Regions from separate parts of the Homo sapiens genome. Here regions 1 and 3 are each linked to region 2. Evidence: promoter capture Hi-C in 16 types of primary human blood cells and fetal thymus (Javierre and others, 2016). All regions are on one chromosome and are shown on one strand. The core of a region is centred on a gene start or on the middle of the fragment in contact, and the rest is flanking DNA. Distances in the headings are between cores, read along the strand shown. Region 1 has its middle 36 kb from the start of RTP4. Region 2 holds the start of RTP2 (receptor transporter protein 2). Region 3 overlaps MASP1 (MBL associated serine protease 1).

Region 1 (3,028 bases), core at 281-2,780, 370 kb after region 2:
GCACAGAGCAACACAGAGCAGAGCTGAGCTGCTGCATGAGGCCGAGCCCAGCCTCTCTCCTGGGTCCTGTGTGATCCGAAACCCAAGCAGCAGCCCCAAGTCACTCGAAGTCTGGTGAGAGTGATGCCCATATCAGCAGTTATCAATCCTGAAGTATTCAGTATTTAAGAATTTTCATCTGGAAATCTTTTTTAAAATAGTGGTGCCTTGGTCCTACTCATAGTGATTTTCATGTAGTTGGTCTGGAATGTGGCCTGGTCTTTGGTATTTTTAAATAATTTCCCTAGGTGATCCCAATATACAGTAATGGATGAGAACCACTGATCTGGTTCAATCACCATTTTTCAGATACAAAGGCTGAGGCGCGAGGGGGAACGGAGTTAGCCCAAGAACCTCCAATACCTTTTGCAGAGCTGGAGCTAGAAGTAGAAGAGCTAACTTTCCACCCACAGCTCCTTCCACTGCACCAAGTAACAAATTGAAATCCCCTTTATCAATAACAGAGGCTGCTTTCCTGGCATCAGACAAAGCTGGGAGCAGAGAGCTTGTTTTTTCACCCTAAAAGATCTGTTATTAAAAGCCTGTTTATGCAAGAAGGGTATAATTAAAAGTGAATGAGTGCCATTTTTTATCGCAATGAATATTAATTAAAGGAAAACACTGAGTCAATACTCATTAGAAAAAGACGGAGGCTGAAAGGCAGACTGCTCATACCAGGGTTGTCAATCACATCAAGCAGTAATGAGATGACAGGACCCTAATAGCAAAATGTTGCTCTATTTTCCTCAAATCCTCTTGGATTTAGAAGTTAGCCAAAATGCAAATCTCAGGCTAGGCTCCGTGGCTCTGCATTCTGCTTGGGCACAGGACTGTCTTGCCTAGGACACAGCCCTCCGTGGGAGTCAGGCTGTAAATGGTTTTACTTATGCAGGGTTAGAATGCTAGAGAAGTAAGTGGCCTCTTCAGCCTCCCTAGAGAGTGAGGGGCCAAACAGATCCAGTGATTCTTGCCACATTGTTCCTGTCCCTGAGCCCTGGGAGAAAGGCAAAAGCACAGACTTTCCCAAAGAAGAATCCTCAAGTCATCAGCAGGTCGCCAGAGCTGATAAATTAGGCTCAACTGGGAGGCTTTTAAAAATGTGTTTGCCAGGCCTTGCCTTGGTCCTACTGAATCTGAATCTTTTGGGCTGAAGAGACGTAAATGGGAGTAAGCATTTAACAGATTCTCATGTTAAACTCTGGTTTTTAGCCCAGCTCAAGATCTTTGCTTTCCTTTGTCAATTGGGGTCTTAGATGATTTTAGTCATCTAAGAATCAATCAATCATTGATTCATTCATTCAGCTGATAAATATTTATCTTCATTAGGCACTGTGCTAGTCACACGTGAAGACAGAGACTTGACCTCTGTTTTCTAGTTTCCTGTGGTTTAACAACAGAAATTACCATCGTGATGACTGCGCCATGAAGGAGGAACACAATGGTGAGGGAACACAGAGATAGGAGAGCTCAGCTCTGAATGGGGAGTCCATGAAGGCTTCTAGAGATGATGAATGGAGAACTAGGTTGAGTGGCATGTTCTCCCAGCAAATGTGCAGAGCCTTAGAGAGGTGGCTGGAGAATCCATTTTAACTGGAAGGCAGAGGGTGTGGTGTTTCATGAGGCTGATGAGTGCTGGATGGGGAAGAGCTCATGCCATGTAAAGGCATGTGCATTTCATCATGTCAAACACAAATTGTACCTAAATTGTCTGACGGAATACAAATATCAGCAAAGAGGAAAAGAAGCGAATGGTTCAGGAGACTGACACACACACTGGTGGGTTCTAGTGGGAGCACATGCAGAGACGGCAGGTTTAAATGCTTCTTCATTACACTGGACATTGGAACCAAACAAGTGTTTGGGGGAGTGATATGGTTTGGCTTGTGCCCCATCCAAATCTCATTTCGAATTGTAATCCCTGCATGTCAAGGGAGGGAGGTGACTGGATCATGGGGGCAGTTTCCCCCATGCTGCTATCATCATAGCTAGTGAGTTCTCATGAGATCTGATGGCTTCTTAAGTGTTTGGAAGTTTCTCCTTTGCTCTTCTCTCTCCTGCTGCCTTATGAAGAAGATGCTTGCTTCCCCTTCGTCTTCCACTGTGATTGTAAGTATCCTGAGGCCTCCCTGGCCATGTGGAACTGTGAGTCAAGTAAATCTCTTTCCTTTATAAATTACCCAGTCTGGGGTATTTCTTCATAGCAGTGTGAAAATGGACTAATACCGGGAATTTCAAAAGAAATGCCAGATAGGAAGGGCACATCCACTTAGGAGCCAAGATAGCAAATATTTAAGTAATAATGGAAGACAATTAAAAAAAGAGACCAGAAGTTCAGAGAAAGGAGTGATATCTTCCCAGAGAAGCTGAGTAGATCCTGAGCAGGCAGGGAGGAGAGGAAAAGGAATTTTAAGCTGGGCAAGTCTTGGCCCTGGGACCAGCAGCTGTGAGCAAGGGCCCTGACCACTATTGTAAACCGAGAACATCTTCCTGGGCTTTTTGACCCATGGCTGTGGACAAATGCCTAACAAATTCCTAAAGAGAAGGGCCCCATGTCTGGTTGCACCTGCACAAACAGAGCAGCAGGATGGGTACCAGTTCTGACCACCAGGAACAGGTGAGCTCCGCACTCATGTGGGTCCATGTGGAACATTTTAGAAGAGAGTAAGTGGATTCTATTTTTTCTGAGACTGGTCTTACAGAATTGGGGTTCCTCAGCTCTGGCAGGGCCTGCGGAGCTCCTCCATACCAGCTCTCACAACTCAGAGAGACGCGAGATTTCAAAATGAATGTCTGAGGGTACAGGGACCCTCCCACTATCACTCTGCCATCTAGTCCCACCTGAAATGAGACCTTTTCCCTTGAAGGACCTGTTCTCTATTCTTCTGGTTAGCAAACCCAGCTTCACATTGCATTGGACTCACCTGGGGAATTTTAAAACTTGTTGATGCTTGGGTCCCACCTCTAGAGATTTTTTTTTTTTTTCTTAGAG
Region 2 (2,876 bases), core at 64-2,563:
TTATTTGAGGAAAAAAGAAAATACAGGTAAACCCTGACAATTCTCATCCTCTTTCTGTTTTTCCTTTATTGCCATTTGTTCTGGGAACAAGGGTATACTATTTCTCAGAGGTTCTTTCCTGGCACGAGGGTCTAGGCCAGGCCATAAGCTCATCTCAGCTTCGTTCAGTTCCTGGCCATTCATGGATCCCTCTGTCTCACCTGGTCTGGTAACTGGCTTCTAAGGGAATCCCCAGTGAGGTTTGAGCTACCCAGTCCTGAGAGCCTGGGCCAGTAATTTTCCATTTCCAGGCCTCAGTTGTTTTAATTCAATGTCAATAAATTTTGGTTAAGAAATGAAGAGTTCAAGAAATAAACCAGATTTTTAAAAATAAAAGAGCTCTTCTAGAGCTGTCAGTCAATGGTTCAAAGACAATTGTGTCCTTTCTGAGGTCTTTAGCACAAAGCCGCTAGAGTAACACTTTTCATTTCAAGAGAGAATCCAGTGACATTGTCCCTGACTTCACACTTCCTGAAAACCACTTGGCAACTCAACACCAAGAGCTTCCGGTTCTTAGCAACCTGTTTCACTTCTTGAAGCTCTTTACTGTTGGAACTCTGCGTGTCTAGGGATCCAGACTTCCGGGTTAAAGAATCGTAAGATGATTACAGTTGGAAGTTGGACCAAAGCTAGGGTAAGCAGCCATATGCCTGGTCTTTTCCATGCTCAAGGCAGCCTCCCTTCAGGTAACCGTGTCTTCACTTGGATTACCAAATTTGAAGTCAGATTCCCCTCTGGTTTCTAAAGAATTTGAATTGGGCATCACAGAGCTACGGATGCTCTCTTGCTCCAGCTCAGCAGTAATGGAGGCAGCAGGAGCCTGCAGCACAGAACAAACTCATTACCCCAGCAGCCACCTTAGCCTGGCTTGGGACCAGGAACTGAATATGGGCTCTAACAGTTCTATGACGCTATGAATCTGAAATGTTATTACTGTGCTTTGCATGGCATATGAAATTACATTCTAGCTCACCAACTGGTCTAAGATTGCCCTGGGCAAAGAGATGTTACTTCTCACTCAATTCCCTGTTAGGAGCACAATAGTACTAAAATAAATAAACAAATGAGCTCGGTTTCAGAAGGCCTAGATCTGAATCTTGGATGAGCCACTTAGGGGTTGCATAAACTTCAGTTTCCTGATCTGATCTGCTTTGGCCAGCACACAGGTCAAGCGGTTTGTGCTAGGCACATGGTAAGTGATGGTCACAGCATATCAGGGGGTGTGGAAGCAGCAGGCTCTGCCTTTCCCTGTCCCTCATTTCTCCTTGACTTCCTAGGGTGTCGTACTTACCATAGCACATGATGTGGAGAATGCTAGAAGAGCAGTTGGGTGAAGCAGGGCCACCAAATAGTCCTTGCCTCCTGGAGACCTCTGGAAATCCAGATGAGTGTGGTCTGAGGTTGGGCCTCCCACTGTGCTTGCTCCTCTCAGGCCTACCCAGCGCTGCCTCTGAAGCCTAACTCAGGGCCCTGAAACTCCCCCTTGGGGCTTCCCTTCTCCCCAGCCCTCACTCTTGGTGCCCTGCCTGGCTACCATGGTAACAGGTTCCAGGGTAACAGAGGAGGGAGCTGGGTCCTGTTTACTCCCAGTCCTGCCGATGAGGATTCTGACCGTAGACACTGAATTGTCCCGTACCTATCCGTGCTCTTTCTGTGTTCTCACCAGGGCTGAGCTCGAACTGCCACCTCTGCCAGCAGGACCATGTGTACCAGCTTGACCACTTGTGAGTGGAAGAAAGTCTTCTATGAGAAGATGGAGGTGGCAAAGCCAGCGGACAGCTGGGAGCTCATCATAGACCCCAACCTCAAGCCCAGTGAGCTGGCCCCTGGCTGGAAGCAGTACCTGGAGCAGCACGCCTCAGGCAGGTGAGAGGTTCAGTGGGGAGGGACCTTGCAGACAGCCCCTGGGTCACAGCTGTGGGGTACTTTCCAAGGAGAGACAGAGCCCAGTCGCGGGCTTATTCTGGTGTCAGCTCAGATGGGGAAAAAGACAAAGACAGCCGGCTGGGTCAGAGAGTTCTTGCTTTTAATCCTAGCAATACCACTAACTCCCTGGGTGACCCTGAGAAAGTTATGTTCCATCTTTGGGTCTTAGTTGTCCACATTAAATGAAGAGCTGTAATATCATCTATGTCCCTGCAATCTCTGACATTTAGAGTGAGTTGGAACTGAAGGAAGGAGGCCATGAGGTCCATTGGGGAAAGTTTTAATCTAGGAGTTGGGGGAATGCAGGGGGTACAGCTATGCTCTGTTCCTAGATATGTTTAGTGAATTAATCCAATTTGATCTGAATACATAAACATTTATTGACCACCTGCTGTGTGCTACGAACTGGCTCTATATAGCTAAGTAGCCTTGTAAACTTGGCAAGTCTGTTTCCCTTTCTGGCTCTCAGTTTTTATATTTACAAAATGAGGGGGTTGGTCTTAGATAATAGATCCAATCCACTCTAGCTCTATTATCTATGCACCTGTGATAAAAAGATTTAGCTTTGAGCAAAACTTTCTTTAGGAACTTAGAGCCCAGGGTCCCACTCTTTATAGGAGCTGCACATCTACCACAGGGCAAAGAGTCCTTGAGGCCAAGGGGACGAGGCCGTCTAAAGTCCACATGCCTTTCCTCCTTTTAGATCATGATTGGGGACTGGGACTACAGAAATTCCTCCCCAGACTACCTCAAGTCCATCTGTAGTGTCTGTGCAGGCCTTTTTCCTGTGTCCTTGGATTCAAGAGAGGCCAGTAAGTGGCTGTGCTCTGGAGATGTAGCCAGAACATGGACACAAAGGCTGGGTTGTTCACGTGTATGTGTGTGAAGCTTCTCATGGTGCAGAATGGTGC
Region 3 (3,153 bases), core at 509-3,008, 440 kb after region 2:
CTGAGCCACATCCTCTCTAAGAGACAGTCCATGCACCCAAGATAAGGTTTCAAGAGGCCTTTGAGCCAGGAAAATTGTTTGGCCAAGTGTCTGTGTCTTTAGTCATGTACTCTCTGGGTTGGTGGGTTCTTTTCTCTCATCTCAGAATAGTTCCCAAAGCAAAACTGATATCAGAAAATGTTCATGTTATCTCTCCAGCCTTGAGCAAGTCACTTCCCCTCTCTTGACCTCTGTTTCCTATAGAAGGAGGCAGATAGAAATAGCTCTTAAAGGTCCCGCCCAGCTCTGATATTCCAGGACTCTATTCTGAGCTGCAGGCTGAATTCCCAGGGCCCCAGGCTACTGGCCTTCTCTTCTCTGCTTCTAAAAGGATGTATGGCTCAAATTTTCCCATGGGCCTCAGCTGGGGCATGCTTCCTGTTCTCTGGAATACTGTGGCTCTGCAGGTGATAACCATTTATCTGATTTATCTGCCATTATGAAAAGGTCCTTCAGCCCAGACGTTACAAGGAGGGAGGTCATTTATCACAGACCCTCAGTAGTATCTCCCTAATCCAAATGACCAGTGTGTTCACTTGAAAATGTTCATGTCCCAGTCACTGCAGAACCCAAGAGGCACTGGGGATACCAAGTTCCAGAAAGAAGCCTGTGTAGCTGGAACTATTAATGCCCAAGGCATGACTATTCATTATTAACAAATTCAAGTTCATCCGCAAGCAGTAATCCTGCATATGTTAAAACTCCTGCTTACCATCTTCTGGTTGGTTTATATAATATATGACTATGATGATTTGTTAGAACTGTGTTAGACTATGATGACTGCTATGTCTGGAATTGGAAAGGAATCTAGAGCTCAGCTAGTCCAAACCCCTGTTTTTACAAGTGGATAACTGAGAGCTAGAAAGGAGATGGCCCAAAATGCAGAATACGGCAGTGTCAGGAACAGGACCCAGGACCTCCAACTGCCAGGTTCCTGTATATCGTATTACTCCAAAGCAGAGGTCACCAAGATGGTGTACTCTAGTTCATGCAGTTACTCACAGAAGAATCCCTTTCCCAGGCCCTCATTCTAAATCTATTTAGCTTTTTTTTATTAAGTTCTAGCAAAAGCAGTTAACTGGTTTCTAATTCACAACATATTAAAAATAAGCAGACAGAAAAGTACAGTGAATAGGCTGATAAAAAGACAGGAAATAAAACATGACATAAAGAAGACTTCAGAAGTTCAAGGCTTTATAGTCCGGCAATGTTTAACGCCAGGTCAAGCGACATTACACAACTCAATATCCCCAAGATTATCACTTTAATATAGTATCACAATGGTTGACATTCATAACAATGTCCCTGGATCACCAAGAAAGGGTTAGCATGTTTCACTTGAGAAAGTGGGTACTTCTTTAAAGTACTTTTTTTTTTTTAAGTGTTACACCAAAAAGAAAATTTTTAGTTATAGTTAGGTAAAGCTTTGGCTATCTGGAAAACTGAGTCAGATAAAATAACACAGCAGCTGGGAGGTTCAAGGAAGTGACATTTCAGCTGTGTGCAGATAGGCACATTCTATAGTAACAAGACTGGTGTGAGTTCGGCTGGTATCTGCAGAGAAGAGGAATAAATAGCAAAGCCATGATCTCATCTTCTGTTTACACTTCAATTCCCAAAGTTAGTGATTAATTGTACTTGCGTTTTGTTGCCAGGGCAAATTGTTTTTCTTTGAAACTCCCACTTATTTTAAATAAATAAACCATTAGTTTCAAAACAGGAGTGTCAAATGTCAAGATATTTCTGACATGCTAAGCTAACGAACAAAACAATGAATTCATTAGAAGCTACTAGAGATAGCCGCCTTTGAGAACTTTTCTCTAATGACTTTGAAAGGCAGCAGGAATCATTCTTGGTAAGAGATTTTTTTCATGCATCTTGGCTAAAATTTGGTCCAGAGGTTGCAAACACAAATACAACTTAAAAGAATTGGATTAGGTATAAGATAATCGAATAGATACGTCAAGAATTTATACTCAAATAAATATACCAACTAGCTATCATACGAAGCTTCCCAAACTCCTGTCTCACATAAAATCAGCTTTAAGCCACCAGTTTAGGATCTCTGCTTGGATCTCTGAATTCGCACAGGGCCTCTGGCTCTTCCAAAGAAGGGAATTCTTTTAGCAAACAGGCATGTTTTTTGCATCTAAGTCTTAACACAAACATGTACACACAGAGATACACACTCAAACTATTTTTGGGTGATTCCAATAAATAGTTTCTGTATTAAGACTGCCTATTAAACATTAGTTTTCATTACATGACTTTCCTGCTTAAAAGTTTTCAGTGTCTTCCACTTACTCACAGAATTAATGGCATTCAAGGTCAACCATAATTTTCTTTCCATGTATCCTTCCAAGTACATCTCCTCCTACAATCCCCACAGACTCCCTGGCTACTCACTGTTCACAGAATGGGGCTTGTACTTTCAGTTCTTGTAAACAAATGTTTATTGGATAACTATTATGTGCCAGGTCCTGTTCCATGCACTGAAGACACATCTATAAAGAAAATAAAGTCCTTCTCTCCTGTAGCTTATATTCTAATGTGGATTGTTTGCCTGCTTTGAGTGCATATGCAGTGCTTCTGCTTGTGTGAAAGCATTTGTCACACTGTGTAATACCTGCCTGTGTCTGTGTTCCTCAATCTCAACACTGCTATTGTGTGCACAGCACTGTGTCTATCTCTCATCACCTCCATCTCATGCTTTGCTCGGCAGTAGGCACACACTGGATACTCAATGAATGACTTATATTGTGTATACAGTTTCCATTCTTTGGAAATGTGGTAAGTTCCTGTTGTGCAGAGAATCTGTCTGCGAGGTTATCTAACTTTTTAAAACTTTCATATTGAGTTATTTTTAATAAATAAGCTGCTTGGTTATTGACAGCAACAACAAATATCAAGCTACTTCTAATGGAACTAAATAAGACGAATGAAACTGATCAGATGTCCACATTGAATTAACTTGTAATGCGTCTTTTCTCAAGAATCCTTAACCTCCTTTCTTTGGGTTTCTCAGGCTGACTAGCCTACTCTTGGGTGGCCCCTTCCTTTTTCTTTCTAAAGATAAGGAAAGAAGCCTAGCTGGGAAACTGCTCATCTTGTTCC

What was found. The method cuts DNA at HindIII sites, captures the fragments that hold promoters and counts their contacts. A CHiCAGO score of 5 or more calls a contact.
Region 1: a fragment that was not itself captured here is called in contact with the fragment with the promoter of RTP2 in region 2 in 7 of 17 cell types (naive B cells, activated CD4 T cells, total B cells and 4 more); the score reaches 7.5 in naive B cells.
Region 3: a contact is called between a fragment that was not itself captured here and the fragment with the promoter of RTP2 in region 2, in 1 of 17 cell types (endothelial precursors). The highest score is 5.2, in endothelial precursors.

What each region holds. Positions count from the first base shown.
Region 1 is chr3:187,331,252-187,334,279 of GRCh38, reverse strand. No RefSeq gene overlaps it. Among named protein-coding and RNA genes, the nearest start is that of RTP4, 36 kb to the left of the region's middle. The HindIII fragment of the contact is 4,956 bases long and covers 1-3,028 here.
Region 2 is chr3:187,700,994-187,703,869 of GRCh38, reverse strand. RTP2 (receptor transporter protein 2) reads left to right here and starts at 1,313. Exons shown (of 2, transcript NM_001004312.2): 1 at 1,313-1,905. The coding sequence starts at 1,742. It overlaps LOC100131635 (hCG1645011-like), which reads right to left and starts at 1,504. Exons shown (of 3, transcript NR_034062.1): 1 at 1,331-1,504. The HindIII fragment of the contact is 5,389 bases long and covers 1-2,855 here.
Region 3 is chr3:187,262,741-187,265,893 of GRCh38, reverse strand. The region is part of intron 2 of MASP1 (MBL associated serine protease 1); the gene reads left to right. Among named protein-coding and RNA genes, the nearest start is that of MASP1, 27 kb to the left of the region's middle. The HindIII fragment of the contact is 586 bases long and covers 1,466-2,051 here.